Regions from separate parts of the Homo sapiens genome. Here region 2 is linked to region 1. The links are contacts of gene promoters, found by promoter capture Hi-C in blood cells and fetal thymus (Javierre and others, 2016). All regions are on one chromosome and are shown on one strand. The core of a region is centred on a gene start or on the middle of the fragment in contact, and the rest is flanking DNA. Distances in the headings are between cores, read along the strand shown. Region 1 holds the start of OXGR1 (oxoglutarate receptor 1). Region 2 overlaps MBNL2 (muscleblind like splicing regulator 2).

Region 1 (3,544 bases), core at 683-3,182:
TTTTTTAAAACGTCAGTTTAAAAAATTATAGTAAAATACACGTAAAAATAAATGTACTATCTTAACCATACTGAAGTGTGGTTCAGTGGCATTATTATTGTGCAACAATATTGTTATGCAACCACCCCACCACCCATCCACAGAACTCTTTTCATCTACCAAAATTGAATTTCATACTCATTAAACAATAGCTCCTCATTCCCTCTCCCCACAATTCCTGGCAACCATTATTCTAATTTCTGTCTCCATAACTTTGACAACTCAGGCACCTCATATAAGCAGAATCGTACAGTATTTGTGCTTTTGTGGCTGGCTTCTTTTGTTTAGCATAATGTCCTCAGGGTTCCTCCATGTTGCAGTATGTGTCAGAATTTCCTTCATTTTTAAAACTGAATAATGTTCCATGGAATGTATACATCACATTTTCTTCATCCATTGATAGGCACTTGGGCTGCATCCACATTTTGGCTATTGTGAATAATGCTGCTATGAACATGGGTGTGCAAGTATCCGTTTGAGTCTCAGCTTTCAATTCTTTGGGGTATATTCCCAGAAGCAGAATTGCTGGCTTGTGTCATAATTCTATTTTTAATTTTTAGAGGAACCATTATACTTTTTTTTTTCCATAGCACCTGCACAATTTTAACTTTACAGGACTGGATATTTTTAAATGTCCTTTCCATGTCTAGAGTTCTAGGACCCAGTACTTGTTTTTCAAATAACCTCTTTAAGTCATTTCCTCGTTAGCTGGAAATCCTGCTCACCATGGAAAAACACTGGGATGTCTTTTACTTCAGAAAGCCTTCATTTGGGTTTAGTCCCCTCCCAGCCCCTTATTTACAAGTGGCAAGCCCTAATCATGTTTTTAATTTATTTCTTGTTTTCCTATAAGACATCAGCTCCTGGAAGCAAAGATTATGTATTATTCTTCAATATCTCCACGGTGCTTGACACAGAATAATCAAACAGCAAATGTCTGATCAATGCATAGGTGGGAACAAAACAGGGTCAACTATTTCCAGATGAAGAATTGAAAAAATGATTAAACATAGTAAAATTAGAGAACATTTTTTCTCCTAATGCAAAATATTTTCCTGGAGAGGCTGGAATTCAAATAATCAAAATGATAAGCATGATAATAAAAATGCCTAACTAGGGCTATCCCAACCATCAGCCAGGGCGGAATCTTTCCACCTGGGCCCTGGTGGGACACCTAACCTAACATTCTTGCTCCTGCTGGCTGGCATTCCCAGAGGATGGGCTATACATGGTGTTTGATGCCCATCAACATGGAAGTGCAGAAGAGACATTCAATGCCCGTCCATGGAAGAGCGAAGAGGGGCATTCTCCAAGCACCCCCATTCGCTAATACAGTGAACTCTTTGATGCTGGAAGAGATCTTGAAGTTCAACGGTTCGGGAGGCGCTAGTATACTGGACGATGTGGCTGAGGTTCAGAGAAGAGAAAAGGCGAATCCTAAGTTATGTAGCAAGAAGGCAACCTACTCCCTAGATCTGGAGATACAGACAAACGCTCTTTGCAGGGATAGAAACTATTTTTAAGCCACCTTGCTAAGCGCTGGAGGGCAGGGTTGTAATTGGATACAGGGAAATGACAACGCTTCAGTAAGTCGCCTCCATCCCACGCTAAATAAGAGGCACTGGACGCCTGGGCGACAGAGCGAGACTCCTTCTCAAAAGAAAAAAAAAAAAAAGAGGCACTGGGCTGTAGGAGAGTGGTGAAATTTCTGGACCAAGACAAGGCGGCCACAACCCTCCTGGGGCAACAACCCTCCCGCCGGGCTGGTTTTTTGGAACCTCTGCAAACACTTTCTCCTGGGTCAGTTTCCCGCCAAACCGGGATGGAGGATGTCCAGAGGTCCCGGGAGTGGAAGCCGCTGTCCCTGTGTCTACTGGGAAGTGGGCGAGGCGGGATGCTGCTGGCCAGGCTGCTCGGGGCGAGGACCCGAGAACACGCACTTGCTCGCTGGGCCTCGGAGGGGTGGGAGGGGCGGGGCGGTGCGCAGCCTCCCCGGGACAGGTCTGCGGTCCGGGACCAACTAGGCTGCACAGGCACGCTGGGCGCATGTCCGCCTCGCCGGGGCTGCCAGGTGAGCCGCGCGTGATCGGGGAGCGGGGCCCACCGGCCGGAGGGAGCGGGTATAGGGGACCCTGCCCTGACCCGGAGGGAGACGGGAGGTGCCCGAGGAGCAGGGGAAAGAGCACCCCCGCACGTCCCTGCAGCAGGCAGGGTCGGACGGAGCAGCGCCCCCTTCTTCTCTGGAGGCAGCAGGAGCACCCCAGATCCTGTGGCGGGAGGCGAAGTTTCATTTTAGGGAACAAAAAGCCCAGGGCGAGAAGACATTTGACTTGGAGAGAACTGGGGGAGTTAGGGATCTCTGATTTCATCTCACACTTTTTTTCACACCCAAGTGAGGGGTCTGGGAGGTGGGCAGGGAGAGTGCTTAGGAGACAAACAGAGTTAATCCCTCACCCCATTGATCACCGCCCTGCTGAATGTTCTCAAAGCTCACCCTGCATCGTGGTGGACTGTGTGGTGTTGGAAACGACCAAAGACTCTGCCCCACCCCCACCCCCAACAAGCGAGGAAAATGTTTCCCCTGAAATGTCTTTCTTCTCTGTCTTGTTTTTTGTTTCGTTGCTATGGATTCGTGAACTAGCTTGTAATGGTCTCTAAACCTCTAACTTGTATGTATAATATTTGCGTGTCCATGCATGCATTTTTCTGAAGCGAGCTCTCAGAAGTTGTATTTGTTTCTCCCGAAGAATAAATAGGCAAAACCATATCTTTGGGCTGCATCAACATGACCTCTTAATAGTCTTCAGGGAAACTGAGTTGCAGATTCTTATTTAACGAATTGGGGATTGGCCGGGTGTGTGGCTCACGTCTGTAATCCCAGCACTTTGGGAGGCTGAGGCAGGTGGATCACCTGAGGTCAGTAGTTCGAGACCAGCCTGGCCAACAGGCTGGTGAAACCCTGTCTCTATACAAATACAAAAAATTAGCCAGACGTGGTGGAACGGGCCTGTAATCCCAGCCACTCCGAGGCTGAGGCAGGAGGATCCCTTGAACCCAGGAGGTGGAGGTTGAAGTGCGCCAAGATCATGGCCACTGCACTCCAGTCTGGGCGACAGAGCAAGATTTCGTCTCCAAAACAACAACAACAATAATAACACAAACAAACAAAAAACAATAAAGTGGGGATTGAGGGAAGAGCCTTGAGGCTCCCAGAAGGGTTGGGGAGAAAGATTCCTTCAGGGACCAGGGAGGACAGCACTTACCCAGTCACAAATTTACCTGTTTTAAGAATTGGTCTCTTTTCCACCAGTATGAAGTACAATTAGTTTTCAAATATGTAGACTGGGAAATCGAAGTAAGTCTTTGTGAATGAAAGGTCTACTTAAGTTTCTTTTTGACAACCCAAAGTGACCCCAGCTTTGGAGCTTCCAAGGACTCTGGAGAGAAGGTAACAGATTAAGTGTTCCAACTGTGCACCTCCCTCGTCCATTGGCATCTTGGGAAA
Region 2 (3,544 bases), core at 534-3,033, 370 kb before region 1:
AATTCTCCTGCCTCACCCTCTCGAGTAGCTGGGATTACAGGCATGCGCCACCATGCCTGGCTAATTTTGTATTTTTAGTAGAGACAGGGTTTCTCCACATTGGTCAGGTTGGTCTCGAACTCCCAACCTCAGGTGATCTGCCCACCTCGGCCTTCCAAAGTGCTGGGATTACAGACATGAGCCACTGCGCCTGGCCCATTATATGGTTTCTAAAGATGACCTGGCTACTTTACATAACTAGCTCAAAGCTCTGTTCAAATCCAGCTCATCTCTCCAGTGTAAGATTCATCTTAGCTTGAGCTGCTAAGGCAGTATACCATCATGGTTAAAGCAAGTCTTCTGGAGCCAAGTTTCAACTCCAGCAAGACCATTTAGAAGCTGTCTGACTTTGGCTGAGGTAGCTAACTTTTGTTTCAGTTTTACCATCTATCAAATGGGATGATGATCATTGTACCCATGTCATAAAACTATTGTTAAGAATTGAGTGTCTACATCTATACGTAACTATCCTGTCTTACATAGTATATAATAGAATATATGATGATATGTAATATATTACATGAGAGAGACCATTTAGAATCATACCTGGCACATAATAAGAGGTTTATAATAATAATATTATTACTATTAGGTATAATTTGTCTATTAAGGCCCAAATACCTTAACTGAAACAGAAAATAGTGCTTAGTAAATCTGTTTGTTGTATTTTTGTTTCCTTATCTGCTCCCAAAGCTAAATAATCAAAAAACATTTTATATTTCCCAAACATATTTGGATTCTGTCTTTATTTAATCTCAAACCACCAGTCTAAATTCAGTGAAAACTTTTATTGGTGGCACCTTGATTCAGCCTGAGGATAGAGTGGCTTGTTCAGCTTGGCTCCCCGTGGGGTAATGTGTAAATAGCACTAGACCTAAGAAGCTGTCATGGGATGTTTTCATCTATCCTCTTTCTTCAATCAATGACTTGTATCTAATTACAAATGCCTGTGAGATTTTAAATATTTGAACTGACAGTCTGAATTGATCAAATTAACAAAAAATCTGTCAAAATCCCACTATATTTTGTGTTAAAGACAGAAAAGAAGGCAGGGTGCTTATCGGTCATCGAACTCTGGAATCATTAGTTTCACTTTCATTCTGTTTGTGTTTATCTTTGTAATCTCATGCTTTGGGCCTAAAATAATAGTCACTGAACCTTTGGTTCACTGAATCTCAGAGCTGAGAGGGACTCCAGGGGCATCTAGTTCTACTCCTCCTTTCACAAATGAGGAAACTGAGATTCATTATGTTTAAATGACTTACATAATCCACGTGGGTATGATTCTATTTGAGTTTAAAGAGTGAAATCTTAACAAGATGATAACTTGTTATTTCAGTCATTACCAAGCCCTGGGTTTCCTATGACTGGATGCTAAAATAATTGCCAAGGTCTTTTGCTGATGCTTTGCTCTTTGAAACTTATTGAAAATACATAAAGAATATCATATCTGGAAATTTGTGTTCACTATTATTTATTTTTCCATGGTTTTTATCTGCAAGCAGACCTGCATCAAGAGCTGCTAAAGGATTTCTCTTCTTCATCATTTAAGTGCAATCCAGCAGCAACTATTACATCTGATAAACTGCAAAACACTGAATATAGGATTCTTGAAGCTACTGTCAGGTACTCCTTTAATTACATTTCTTTGGATTAAATTGAAATCAGAGTTCAGCTATGCTTGCAATTAAAGAAGTTGAAACCTCAACTTATTTCCTTTTCCACTCGCACCCTTCCTGAAAGTGATATATTTTAGCTTCTGAATATTCCATGCTTCCAACCTCTGCCTCCCTACACACACACATACACAGACACGAACACACACACACACACACACACACACAAACTTGAATATACCTATGGAATCTCTCTCTCAAAGTTTTTTTTCTACTAAATGGAGCCAAAGAATCACTAGGCTTGAACAATATATATGACACATGGTCAAATATTTATTATGCTAAAATAATTTATCCTACAACTCCAAACTATTTCTTTATCTTGGCTTCTTTTCCTTTCTTAAAAAAGATCTCTAAGTGCCCAAAAGGCTAAACTTATCATATAGAATTTCACTGTAACAAATACTGCTATATTATACTTCAAACTTGTATTTTATTTTATTTTATTTTATTTTAAGACAGGGTGTCACTCTGTCACCCAGGCTAGAGTGCAGTGGCATGATCATGGCTCACTGCAGCCTCGACCTCCCCAGGCTCAGGCGATCCTCCCACCTCAGCCTCCCAAGTAGCTGGGACTACAGTGTATGGCACCCCGTGCCTGGCTAATTTTTTTCATATTTTTGTAGAGACCAGATTTTACCATGTTGCTCAGGCTGGTCTCCAACTCCTGGGCTCAAGTGATGCTCCTCCCTCGGCTTCCCAAAATGCTGGGATTACAAGCATGAGGCACTGCACTCAGTCCAAACTTGTTTTCTTATAAAAGGACTTTGTAATAAAAATTGGGTCAAAAATCACATAAACATAGTTCAAGGAGGCAGGACTTCAGACTTGAAAGAAACAGGTATCCAGCTTCCCTATTAAGAATGAGTGATTGAGAAGAGCTTTGGACCTAATAATGGAAAGATGCAAACAGTCTCACTCCCTTCTCCCATCCCACATTAAATAATAATCATCATCATCATCTTCCCAGCTAAGGAACTAATCCTTGCCTGTTCTTTGTTCTGTTTGTTTCGAAGCTGGGTTGGTTTTCCTTAGAGGACCGGTTGGCATTTTAGAGGTGGGAGTGAATTGCTGAAGAATCGTCCTCAGTTGATTGACACCTGCCTCTGCACTGCTGTTCGGCCTCCCCTCCCTCCCCCACTCTCTGCTCTCTCCTGCTCTGTCACAATGCTGAGGCCACAGTCAGCACTGTCACGGGGTTTAACTTTTATTCCTGCATTCCTGTCCACTCACGCCTCTCTTTGTAGGGATGAAATCTGCAGAGCTGGAATCGTGGATTCACTTGAATGTGGAAAGCAGCATGACTCAGCCCTCCCAGCCTGCAGAATGCGGGTTGGGACTGCCGTGATCCCCCAACACGATTTCCCCTAATTTCTTTTATCCCTTGTCATCTTTTATTAGCAGAGCTGATTTTATTTTTAAAAACCCATGAAACTAAAAACCAAACCAAAATTGTTCTTCTGTGAAGGGAGGGCATGCGCAATGAAGTATTCTTCCAGGCGAGGTGAGAGTTTCTGCTCACTCACCCTCACGCTGTCTCCTTGTGGCTAGGAGCACATGTTTGCAAGTTGGGAGGCTAGGGTCACGGATACAATCAGCTTGTGACCACAGAGTAGGAAATAGCAGCTGGCTGTCACTACGAAATAGTACATCCATGGTCTCACTGGCACATGCATTAAACCAACAGAGTTAAATGCTCCTCATCAGTTATATCCAGCCTTTGTGAGTTCAGCGGCACCCATGACTCTTCATTCCGGATGGTTTGGCTCTTAGGCCAGTATTGGAGCAGATTGTAAGGTGGGAACCAAGTGAGTTTGGCAGAACCTAAG

What was found. The method cuts DNA at HindIII sites, captures the fragments that hold promoters and counts their contacts. A CHiCAGO score of 5 or more calls a contact.
Region 2: a contact is called between a fragment that was not itself captured here and the fragment with the promoter of OXGR1 in region 1, in 1 of 17 cell types (monocytes). The highest score is 5.6, in monocytes.

Annotation. Positions count from the first base shown.
Region 1 is chr13:96,992,864-96,996,407 of GRCh38, reverse strand. It overlaps OXGR1 (oxoglutarate receptor 1), which reads left to right and starts at 1,932. Exons shown (of 4, transcript NM_001346194.2): 1 at 1,932-2,110. The HindIII fragment of the contact is 5,494 bases long and covers 1-3,544 here.
Region 2 is chr13:97,367,040-97,370,583 of GRCh38, reverse strand. All of the region lies in intron 8 of MBNL2 (muscleblind like splicing regulator 2), which reads right to left. Among named protein-coding and RNA genes, the nearest start is that of RAP2A, 65 kb to the left of the region's middle. The HindIII fragment of the contact is 4,464 bases long and covers 1-3,544 here.